Linked DNA regions of Homo sapiens: regions 2 and 3 are each linked to region 1. Evidence: promoter capture Hi-C in human tissues and cell types (Jung and others, 2019). All regions are on one chromosome and are shown on one strand. The core of a region is centred on a gene start or on the middle of the fragment in contact, and the rest is flanking DNA. Distances in the headings are between cores, read along the strand shown.

Region 1 (3,714 bases), core at 1-2,500:
ACCTACAATCCCTTTTGGAGATGAAATTCAACAGGTAAAAGCAGTACCAGAGCAGGTGTCTCTGAAAGGAGGTAGTGGGGAGTTCCCAAAGGAAAGAGAAAAGGGAAGAGGAGAGCCAGCACAGAACAAAGAATTGCAGAGAGGGAGCCATGGGCTTCTCCTGGAGACCCTAAAACAGAGCCCCAGGAAGAGGTGATGACATAAGAGGCTTCTCAAACCTCACAAGAGGAAGTAGACCCAAGAGACACGCATTGGAGATCAGAGAGCGGCCATGCAAAAGGAAAGACAGCAAACGAGCTGCAGCAAGCTCCTAAGCCCTGCAGCCCAGGCACAGGAAACCAGAGGCAGAGCCTCAGGCCCAGGGTGAGGGGCGAAGCACCAGCCTGAGCCTCTTGCAGCACAGAGCAGCTGGAAGAGAGAAGTGCTGGAGCCACCGGAGGATTATGGCTGTCTACTCCGAGGGCAGCAACCTGCCTAGGCCTGCGGTGCAAGGCCCAAGTCCTGACCAGGTGCTTTGGCCAAGCCCAGGGAGTTAGGAAGTGTACCAGGCTGCTAGAGGTAGCTAGGGCTGGAAACGCACTAACATGTGGGCTATTGCACAGCTCCTGTGCAAAAACCTAGCAAATGAGCATGCTCTGGAGCACCACGCAGGCTCGCGTGTAGAGCTTGTTCCTAGGACCTATCACTACTCCCTAGACCCCTCAAAAAACAAACCCTGGCCTACACTCAGAGAATGCTCTGGGAGGTGGGGCTACAAAAGAAACTTTCTCTTGGGGGTAGGTGGAGCCCAGCAGCAGGGGAGAGCCAGAGGAAGGCGTGTCAAGGGAGGAGGTGAGACCCAACTGAGGGTAGGCACTGGAAGAGGGCTTTCTCTCTTCACTCTAACTTGGAACCTCATTCTGCATAGAACTTTTTCAAAGTCGGAGGGAGGAGGTTGCTCAGAGTGGGGTGTTGCCCTCTGCGAGGATTTGGAGTCCCCTGGCCTCCCAGCAGGGAGTGGAGAGGCATTCCCAGAAGCATCAGCTTCGGGCATCTCCAGAACCCTGGCTTGGTCCCTGACCAAGGAGTGTCCCCAACTGCTGAATAGGCCAGGAGTCGCCTTTCTCTAAGGCTTACATCTCTCCCTCTGGGGTGTGTCCTGCCCCTCCCTGAGTCACCCCAAGGGGAGAGAGGGGAAAAAAGGGAAGAGAAGAGAGGCATTGACTACAGAGGAAGGAAAAGGAAGCAGAGCAGAGGGGGGAGAGAGGCCACACAGGAGTGGGTGACAGAGGAGACTGCAGAGGGCAGGTCTAGGGCAGAAGATCGAGAGAGGGCAGGCCCAGGTCAGGAGGAGGTAGAGAGAGGGCAGCCGGAGCACCCCAAGGGGTGCCTCAAGAGCAGGTGGGGGCGGGGAGCCGAGGGGGCGGGCCGGCCATGTCCCACGGGACCTACTACGAGTGTGAGCCCCGGGGTGGCCAGCAGCCACTCGAGTTCTCAGGGGGCCGAGCTGGGCCCGGGGAGCTAGGGGACATGTGTGAGCATGAGGCCTCCATTGACCTCTCCGCCTACATCGAGTCTGGGGAAGAGCAGCTTCTCTCCGATCTCTTTGCCGTGAAGCCAGCGCCTGAGGCCAGAGGCCTCAAGGGCCCCGGAACCCCTGCCTTCCCCCACTACTTGCCGCCTGACCCTCGGCCCTTTGCCTACCCTCCACATACCTTCGGCCCAGACAGGAAGGCGCTGGGGCCTGGCATCTACAGCAGCCCAGGGAGCTACGACCCCAGGGCTGTGGCGGTGAAGGAGGAGCCCCGGGGGCCAGAGGGCAGCCGAGCTGCCAGCCGAGGCAGCTACAATCCCCTGCAGTACCAAGTGGCACACTGTGGGCAGACAGCCATGCACCTGCCCCCAACTCTGGCAGCACCCGGCCAGCCTCTGCGCGTTCTCAAGGTAAGAGCAGGCCAGCCCTCCTCCCTCCTGCCCGGGGCTGGAGAGGCTGGTGTGGACAGGACCCTGTGCCCCGGCTCATGCTGCTGAGCCTGTGCTTGGTGTCGCTCTGTGAAATGGACCCAACCCACAGTCCTCTGTGTTCACACCCCACCATGACCTCCCTTTCCTTCTCTGTGAATTCATTCCCACCCTGAATCCCCACCCAAAGCCCCTGTGGCAAGCTGACCTACTTGATCTCAGGCCCCCACCGCCAGCCTCTCTGCTGCTCACCATGCCCCCTCCTCTTGTTTCTCTGCCGCCTGCTTCTGTGAGAAATGTCTACTGGTCATAGAACGGGAGACTCAAGGCAGATTGAGGGAAAGTGTACTCAGAAAGTGTGAGAGCATTGGCTGGGTGTCGTGGCTCATGCCTGTAATCCCAGCGCTTTGGGAGGCCAAAGCAGGAGGTTCGCTTAAGGCCAGGGGTTGGAGACCAGCCTGGACAACATAGCAAGGCTCCATCTTTACAAAAAAAGAAAGAAAGAAAGTGTGAGAACATGAAAGGGAGTTTTGGTCTCAAGCAGAGGACCCTGTGCATCTGGGTCACCATCTCCCAGAAGCAGAGCGATGATAGTTTTGACCTGAGAGACAGGAGCTGGCTCTGAGTCCTGTATTCCTTTGACGCATCAAGTGTGCCCTGGCTGCCGAGATTCCCGCCCCGCCTCCGCTCTGCCTCCTGGCCAGCCCTCACCTCTCCGTCTCTCCGTGCCTTCCCCTCCAGGCCCCTTTGGCCACTGCCGCACCCCCCTGCAGTCCCCTCCTGAAGGCGCCCTCCCCGGCTGGCCCCTTACACAAGGGCAAGAAGGCAGTGAACAAAGATAGCCTTGAGTACCGGCTGAGGCGGGAGCGCAACAACATCGCCGTGCGCAAGAGCCGAGACAAGGCCAAGAGGCGCATTCTGGAGACGCAGCAGAAGGTGCTGGAGTACATGGCAGAGAACGAGCGCCTCCGCAGCCGCGTGGAGCAGCTCACCCAGGAGCTAGACACCCTCCGCAACCTCTTCCGCCAGATTCCTGAGGCGGCCAACCTCATCAAGGGCGTGGGGGGTTGCAGCTGAGGCTGGCTGGTGGATTGTGGGCACCAGGCTCCCTGGCACGGCCTAACTCTGCGGACCCCCATCCTGCTGGGGGCCTAGAACCCTGAGACATAGACCATGGATAAATGGCAACCGGGGTGGCAAAGAGGGCAGGACCCAGCATAATGATTATATGGCTGAATAAAGTTGCACTGTGACTGGGTGTTGGGACTGTTGGCTGTGTGTGTGTGTGTGTGTGTGTGTGTGTGTGTGTGTGTGTCATGGAGGACCCTGGGGACAGAGGATGCATGTGGCTAGGTCTGCACCTCTTGTTTCCATGACCAAGTGGACATGTGGAAACACAGACATGCTGTCCACAGCCCACCCCCAATATACCACACAGCCAGGCCGTGTATCTGTCACTCTGCTCTTCTCTCCCTGACATCCCCCATCACCCCCTTCTGTGAGCTGAAGGCACATCCCCGCCCCCCACAGGACCTGGAGCACCTTTGTATGCTCTGCTAACAAAGATCTTCAGCTTGTAGGGAGATCCCGGCACCACACAGTCCTTCATGCCCAGGCCTGCTGATCCCAGGCCCACTCTCTCTCACCTTGAGGTATAGGTCTGGGAGCTCCTGCCCCAGGTGACCATGGGAAAATTCCTGATGGCTCTGCCATATTTATGGTCCCTTGATCCAGCCCGCCATCTCTTCTCTCCATTTCCAAAGCCTCAGTCTA
Region 2 (3,714 bases), core at 508-3,007, 170 kb after region 1:
AGTTTATTACTTATTCCCCCTTAATATCCTTGTATATAATATAAATGCTTGTTACCTTGAATATTACCCTTGTTTATTTGTGGATTTTTAAAAAATCTCATTAGATTTAGCAATCTTTCCTATAAAAATCCTAGGGGTTTTTTGGAAGTATTAAGTTATGCTCAGTTATGTAAAGTAAGAGTCCACACCTTTTTTGTTTTTTTGTACCTGTGGGGACATGATGTTAAGTGTGCAGCAAACAACTTCCTCCTTGTAACCTGAGTAAAGAGGACCTGTTACAGAACCCATACTTCAGCAAGCTTCTCCTGAATCTCTCACAGCATGTGGATGAGAGTGGCTTAAGCCTCACCCTAGCAAAGGAGCAGGCTCAGGTAAGGGCTTTGGGAGAAGAGATAAGAAGAAGGGAAAATCCTGAGAGAGAGGTTCCTACCTGAGATTTTTTGGATTTCTAGGCATGGAAGGAAGTTCGACTGCATAAGACAACATGGTTGAGGTCTGAGATTTTACACAGAGTCATTCAAGAGTTGCTTGTGGACTACTATGTGAAGATACAAGACACAAATGTAACTTCTGAGGACAAAAAGGTGAGGCAAAGGCTGGGCGTGGTGGCTAACACCTGTAATCCCAGCACTTTGGGAGCCCCAGGCAGGCTGATCACTTGAGGTCAAGAGTTTGAGACCAGCCTGGCCAACATGGTAAGACCCCGTCTCTACTAAAAATACAAAAATTAACCAGGTGCAGTGGCACACGCCTGTAATCCCAGCTACTCGGGAGGCTGAGGCAGCAGAATCGCTTGAACCTGGGAGGCGGAGATTGCAGTGAGCCGAGATTGCGCCACAGCACTCCAGCCTGGGTGACAGAGCGAAACTCAGTCTCAAAAAAAAGTGAGGTGAAAGAAATGAGGTGGGGTTGGTTACCAGTTACAGGAATGACCAGGCCAACTGTGGCTTTGTCTGATGATGTGATCTAGGGGAAGTAGGAGCTTTGAGAAATGGTTTGTCAAAAGAGAAATGGACTGTAGTTATGGGGAAGGAGTGGATGTGTTATCAGAGTTTGTAATAGAAACATTGACAGAAGTCACTCGCAGCTGAGTTATCTGAGGGGGGATGATATATTTGAGGACTTTGAAAATATGTGAAAAACTGGTTCATAAGGATGGAAGAGGTGGAGTGGGAGAAGTTTTATAGTTGCCTCTTTTTGTTTTTTATTCTCTCTCTCTCAGTTTCATGAGACCCTTGAACAGCGGCTGCTTGTAACTGAACTGATGCGGCTCTTAGGTCCTAGCCAGGAGAGGGAGATACCTCCACTGCTGGGGCTGGAGAAAGCGGACCTTCTGGAACTCATGCCACTCTCAGAGGTTGGCGGGGAGATATTGGAACCAAATAAATGAAATGGTTTAATTTCTCCCATATCTTTAAAATGTTTTTTTTGTCAAGCTTTATTGTTTTTGTAAAAATGATACACATTCAGGGTGGTCAGACTCAAATAAGAAAAACGTTACACAGGAGCAAGTAAAAGCTGAAATACTGCATCTAGAAGCACAATATTATTATAAACAGCTTGACATAAATGGTATTATACCCTTCATGCTTATATAGAGAGTATAAGGCCGAGTGTAGTGACTTCCGCCTATAATCGTAGCACTTTGGGAGGCTGAGGTGGGAGGATCACTTGAGTTCAGGAGTTCAAGACCAGCCTGGGCAACATAGTGAGACCTCGTCTCTACCAAAAAAAAAACAAAACAAAAGCCAGGTTTGGTGGTGCACACCTGTAGTCCCAGCTACTCGGGAGACAGAGGCAGGAGGATGACTTGAGGGTGGGAGGTCAAGGCTGTAGTGAGCTGTGATCATGCCACTGTACTCCAGCCTGGGCACAGAGTGAGACCCTGTCTCAAAAAAAGAAAAGTACAGTCTATTTTCATGTAATATATTTTGGATTTCTTTTCAAGTCAATACATAAATGTAAATAAGATGATAGCTTCTATAGCACTGTTAGCAAAGTATCTAGGCACATAGTGCTTAGTGTTATGTCATCAGTTTAAATCTCTGCTAGGATTCTATTATATGGATGTAGAATAATTTGCTTAACCTTATTGGTGGATATTAAGGTTGTTTCCACATTTTTGCTGTTAGAAACCACAGGGAGATGAACATGCTGGTTCATATGTGTCTTTACCTTTGTATGATTATTTCTGTAATGCTGGTGCTAAAAGTGGGATTCCTGAGTCAGTGCATACTCATACAGAATATTGGTACCTAATGCCAAACTGCTATCCAGAAAGGTATTTTCAGGGCTCCTGGATCCCCCATGTTCTCACCAACATGGGGTCTTGACAGTCATTTTATTCTTCGCTAATTTGATAGGTGAAAAATGAGTCTCTCTGATGTCTCTTGATGCATTTTCTTTGGCTATTATTGAGGTTATCATCATGTATTCATTGGCTGAGACGTCCTAGTTTTTACAGTCTATTCGCATTTCTGCCTTTACTTCTATGACTGTAGGATTTTGTGTGGATGAGGGCTCGGCTACAGCAAGAAGTAGAGGAGCAGCTCAAAAAGAAATGTTTCACTCTGCTCTGCTACTATGATCCCAATTCAGGTGAGTGCTAGCTGTCTGTTCTGCTCACAGCTGGACTTCAGGGTTCCTGGTCTGCTCTTTTGAGAATAATATATTTTGATTTTAGATTTGGGACAGAGGTTTAGAACCATCAGAGATGCTTATTTGTTTTGTTGCTGGTAGAATAAAAACAAGGACTTTTTGTTTTTTTGTTTTTTTTTTTTTTTGAGATGGCGTTTTGCTCCTGTTGCCCAGGCTAGAGTGCAATGGCGCCATTTCTGTTCACCGCAAGCTCCTCCTCCTAGATTCAAGTGATTCTCCTGCCTCAGCCTCCCGAGTAGCTGGGATTACAGGCATGCGCCACCCCGCTCGGCTAATTTTGTATTTTTAGTAGAGATGGGGTTTCTCCATGTTGATTAGGCTGGTCTGGAACTCCCAACCTCAGGTGATCCGCCTGCCTCGGCATCCCAAAGTGCTGGGATTACAGGTGTGAGCCACCACACCCGGCCAAAACAAGGACCTTTGTAAGGACTCTTTTTATTCAGCAAGATACTGAGTGGGAGTGTCCTCCTGCTGCAGGGAAGGATGAGTTCTCTCAGGAGGTTCAGAATGGTTTAGGGAGGAAAGTTCAGACTCATAGAACACCTTATACTCTCTGTATAAGCTTGGAGGGTATAATACCATTTATGTCAAGCTGTTTATAATAATGTGTTTCTAGACGTAGTATTCATATTTCAGCTTTTACTTGCTTCTGTGTAATGATTTTCTTATTTGAGTCTGACCACCCTGAATGAATGTGTATCTCTTTTTTTTTTTTTTTTTTTTTTGAGACGAAGTCTCGCTCTGTCCCCCAGGCTGGAGTGCAGTGGCGCAGTCTCACCTCACTGCAAACTCCACCTCCTAGGTTCACGCCATTCTCCTGCCTCAGCCTCCCGAGTAGCTGGGACTACAGGTGCCCGCCACCACGCCTGGCTAATTTTTTGTATTTTTAGTAGAGACGGGGTTTCACCGTGTTAGCCAGGATGGTCTCAGTCTCCTGACCTCATGATCTACCCACCTTGGCCTCCCAAAGTGCTGGGATTACAGGCGTGAGCCACTGTGCCTGGCCCTGAATGTGTATCATTTTTACGAAAATAATAAAGCTTAACACCTGAGTCT
Region 3 (3,714 bases), core at 721-3,220, 130 kb before region 1:
TATTTTTGCACGCAATTTAATTTTTGAACATCTGTAAATAAGTCACTAAGTTTTAGAAATTCACTTTAAAGATATTGGTAAATTCACGATCTCTTTGACATTCAAAACCTATTAGTTTGCCTTATCTATCTTTTGTGAAACTCCCTCATTCCATAATATCTACAAGCAAGTCTTAGTATTTTTGAACTATATATCTGGATAATCATTTGCTTGATAAAAGGACATTTCTCTTTAGAAGTACTCCAACTAAAAAAATAAGAAAGGATGACAGAATTGGAATTTTACAACTTCTAATGAATTAAGGATCTCTGCAAAGTTCATCAATGGCTACCCTCATACAAAATAAGAGACATAGACCATTAAGTACCTCTTGGTGGAATACAACACTAGAATAAAGTGGTCTTGCCTCACCTTTCCCCGCCCCCAAACCAATGATGGTGATAAACCCTAAACTTACCTAACAATTTACAAGAAATAGAGGACAGAGGAACATATGAAATGACTCCATAGGTACAATAAACAAAATCCACACTGTGAACAACTCTATAGACAAAAGACCATTTTCTTCAATAATAACTTAAAAAGAAACAAGAGAAAACTTATAGTGTAAAAGAAACTTAAGAGACATAATAACCAACTGAAATATATACCTTTATTGAAACTCAATTCAAAATGTGGGAACATTTTAAAACTGAGACAACTGGAGAAATGTGAATGGGGACTGATAATTTGATAATATTATGGAATTGTTATTTTAGCATGATGTGGTTATATTTAAGAAAAAAGTTCCTATCTTTTAGAGATACACACTGAAATGTTTACAGATAGAAATGACGTAATATTTGGTTTTGGCTTTAAAATAATCTGGGTGGGGGTGGCAAGAGGTATGGATGGAGGAAAACTGGCCATTCACTGATAATTGTTGAAGTGGAGTGATGGATGCATGAAAATAAACCGTCCTCATAGGGTTTAACAAGAATTACATGCTTGGCTCTGGACAGAAATATAGTTATAATTAAGCATTAATCAGGCTGCACTTGGCCCACTTCCTTTTAGCTGCGAAAGTCACATCACACTAGATGCTGACCATTTGCATCCTCATTGTTCTCATAAATAGAATATGACATTAGAATCATAAGGCTTTTGCTTAAAAGTTGCTTAAGATAGTTTTCAGATCCTGAATTCCAGTGGAACAGTGAGTCTAAAGACCCCCACAGAGGAACTGAATCAGCATGAGAATGCAATTTCTTCATCCCCGCTTCTCATGACTTCAACCTGCATTCCTTAACCAATCAATGATCCCCACACCTTGGCTTACTACCTGTCCAACCCTTTAAAAACCTCTAGCCTCAAACTCCTCCTGGAGGCAAATTTGAGGTTTCCTATCTCCTTGTTCAGCTGTCTTATGATTAAACCCCTTTCTCTGCTGCAACCCAGTGTCTTGGTGTACTAATTTGCCATGCACTGGGCAATGAACCTGATATGGTTCAGAAATTAATTATATTATACATATCATTATATTCTTTTAAACATTTGAAATTACATGTGATGAAATCATAATAAACTTTTTTTTAATGGGCTGATTTTGAGGGGGATCTTTTGAACAGGGTGTGGTGTAAGAAATACATATATGGTCTTCGCCCCTGGTTCCTCACAGAGTTACTAAAACCTTTGGCATTTCCTGAGTGATAGGAGCATCTTTTGTTATTCATAACAAGCTCCTTTCAACCATACCTGAATGTGTGCTAATGAGGTGACTCTTGGTGGGTCCTAGGTAGCATCAAAATGGGGACTTGTTGCCAGGGGAACCAAACACTGTTTAGAGGGTTGGGGTCCCAACCTTTCTTCCCACGCCCCCCAACCCCTGACAATCAGAGAGGGAAAAGGGGCTAGAGATTGAGTTCAATCGCCAATGACAAATTCTTTAATCAATCATGCCTATGTAATGGAACGTTCATAACAACTCCTGAACAAGGCGGTTCAGAGAGTTACCAAGTTGGTGAACACTTGGAGGTGCTGGGAGGGTAGTGCATCTGGAGAGGGTATGGAAGCTCTGCACCCCTCCTCACATACTTTGCATCTTTTCCATTTGGCTATTTCCATGATATATGGTTTTCTTTCTTTCTTTTTTTTTTTGAGACAGAGTCTCACTCTGTTGCCAGACTGGAGTGTGGTGGCACAATCTTGGCTCACTGCAACCTCCACCTCCCAGGTTCAAGTGATTCTCCTGCTTCAGCCTCCAGAGTAGCTGGGATTACAGGCGCCCGCCACCACACCCATCTACTTTTGGTATTTTTAGTAGAGGCAGGGTTTCACCATGTTGGCCAGGCTGGTCTCGAACTCCTGACCTCAGGTGATCTGCCCGCCTCAGCCTCCCAAAGTGCTGGGATTACAGGCGTGAGCCACTGCACCTGGCCCCTATGTTGTATCTTTTATAATAAACTGGTAATAATAAACAAAGTACTTTTCTGAGTTCTGTGAGTCATTCTAGCAAATTATTGAAGCTTGTGGGAGCAGGAGGAAGTTCATGGGAATCCTCAAGTTTGTTGTTGGCCAGTCTGAAGTATTTTAGCCTGGGTACCCCATTTGTGGCTGGTGTCCAGAGTCGGGGCAGTCTTGTGAGGCTGAGCCCTAAACATGTGAAGTATGATACTAAAACTCTAGGAATTAGTGTTAGAATTGAATTGAATTGAATTGAATTGTTGCATACCTAGTTGGTGTCAGAGAACTGGTTGGTATCAGAAAACATCTCACACAGGGGCAGAAAATATATAGTGCAAATATTATTCATCTTTCCATTTAGCAAACCTTTACTGAACACTTTACGTCAGGCATAAGAACTGGAAATGCTAAGATGAATAGTATGGGTTCTTGTCTTTTAGTAGTGTCAAAGGAAAATATGTTGGACCCCCCAAATCACTAAGCTAAAGGGAAAAGCCAAGCTGGGAAATGCTCAGGGCAAACCTGCCTTTCATTCTATTCAAAGTCACCCTTCTGCTCACTGAGATACATGCATATCTGATTGCCTCCTTTGGAGAGGCTAATCAGAAACTCAAAAGAAGGCAACCATTGGTCTCTTATCTACCTATGACCTAGAAGCCCCTTCCCACTTTGAGCTGTCCCACCTTTCCCGATCGAACCAATGTTCATCATACATATGTTGATTGATGTCTCATGTCTCCCTAAAATGTATAAAACCAAACTGTACTCTGACCACCTTGGGCACATGTCGTCTGAACCTTCTGAGGCGCATGTCCTCAATCTTGGCAAAATAAACTTTCTAAATTAACTGAGACTTGTCTCAGATTTTCCGGGTTTACAGTAGCTTATCACAGTCTAGTAGAAGAGACATTCTGACACATGAACTAATAAGTAAAACACTAGGTTATACGCAGAACACAAGTACTTACAAGATATAGAGATAATGATTAAGAGGTAATTATTAATTCAGTCTTTTTTTTTTTTTTTGAGACAGAGTCTCGCTCTGTCACCCAGGCTGGAGTGCAGTGGCACATTCTAGGCTCACTGCAACCTCTGCCTCCCAGGTTCAAGCAATTCTCATGCCTCAGCCTCCCAAGCAGCTGGCATTACAGGCACGCGCCACCATGACACCTGGCTAATTTTTTGTATTTTTAGTAGAGACAGGGTTTTACCATATTGGCCAGGCTGATCTTGAACCCCTGACCTCAAGTGATCCACCCCCTCAGCCTCCAA

What was found. Contacts are between HindIII fragments. The study calls those that stand out against the background at their distance.
Region 2: a contact is called between a fragment that was not itself captured here and the fragment with the promoter of CEBPE in region 1, in 3 of the 25 tissues and cell types used here (dorsolateral prefrontal cortex, mesenchymal stem cells and thymus).
Region 3: a fragment that was not itself captured here is called in contact with the fragment with the promoter of CEBPE in region 1 in 1 of the 25 tissues and cell types used here (mesenchymal stem cells).

The regions. Positions count from the first base shown.
Region 1 is chr14:23,116,791-23,120,504 of GRCh38, reverse strand. It overlaps CEBPE (CCAAT enhancer binding protein epsilon), which reads left to right and starts at 1,250. Exons shown (of 2, transcript NM_001805.4): 1 at 1,250-1,923; 2 at 2,683-3,199. The coding sequence starts at 1,414. The coding sequence ends at 3,018. RefSeq lists enhancers at 1-451, 532-611. The HindIII fragment of the contact is 12,579 bases long and covers 1-3,714 here.
Region 2 is chr14:22,949,198-22,952,911 of GRCh38, reverse strand. HAUS4 (HAUS augmin like complex subunit 4) reads left to right here. Exons shown (of 10, transcript NM_001166269.2): 3 at 229-371; 4 at 453-584; 5 at 1,223-1,357; 6 at 2,502-2,598. The region is part of intron 2 of PRMT5-DT (PRMT5 divergent transcript); the gene reads right to left. Among named protein-coding and RNA genes, the nearest start is that of MIR4707, 6.0 kb to the left of the region's middle. The HindIII fragment of the contact is 5,650 bases long and covers 1-3,714 here.
Region 3 is chr14:23,250,237-23,253,950 of GRCh38, reverse strand. All of the region lies in intron 4 of RNF212B (ring finger protein 212B), which reads right to left. Among named protein-coding and RNA genes, the nearest start is that of RNF212B, 14 kb to the right of the region's middle. RefSeq lists a silencer at 1,577-1,871. The HindIII fragment of the contact is 5,432 bases long and covers 1-3,714 here.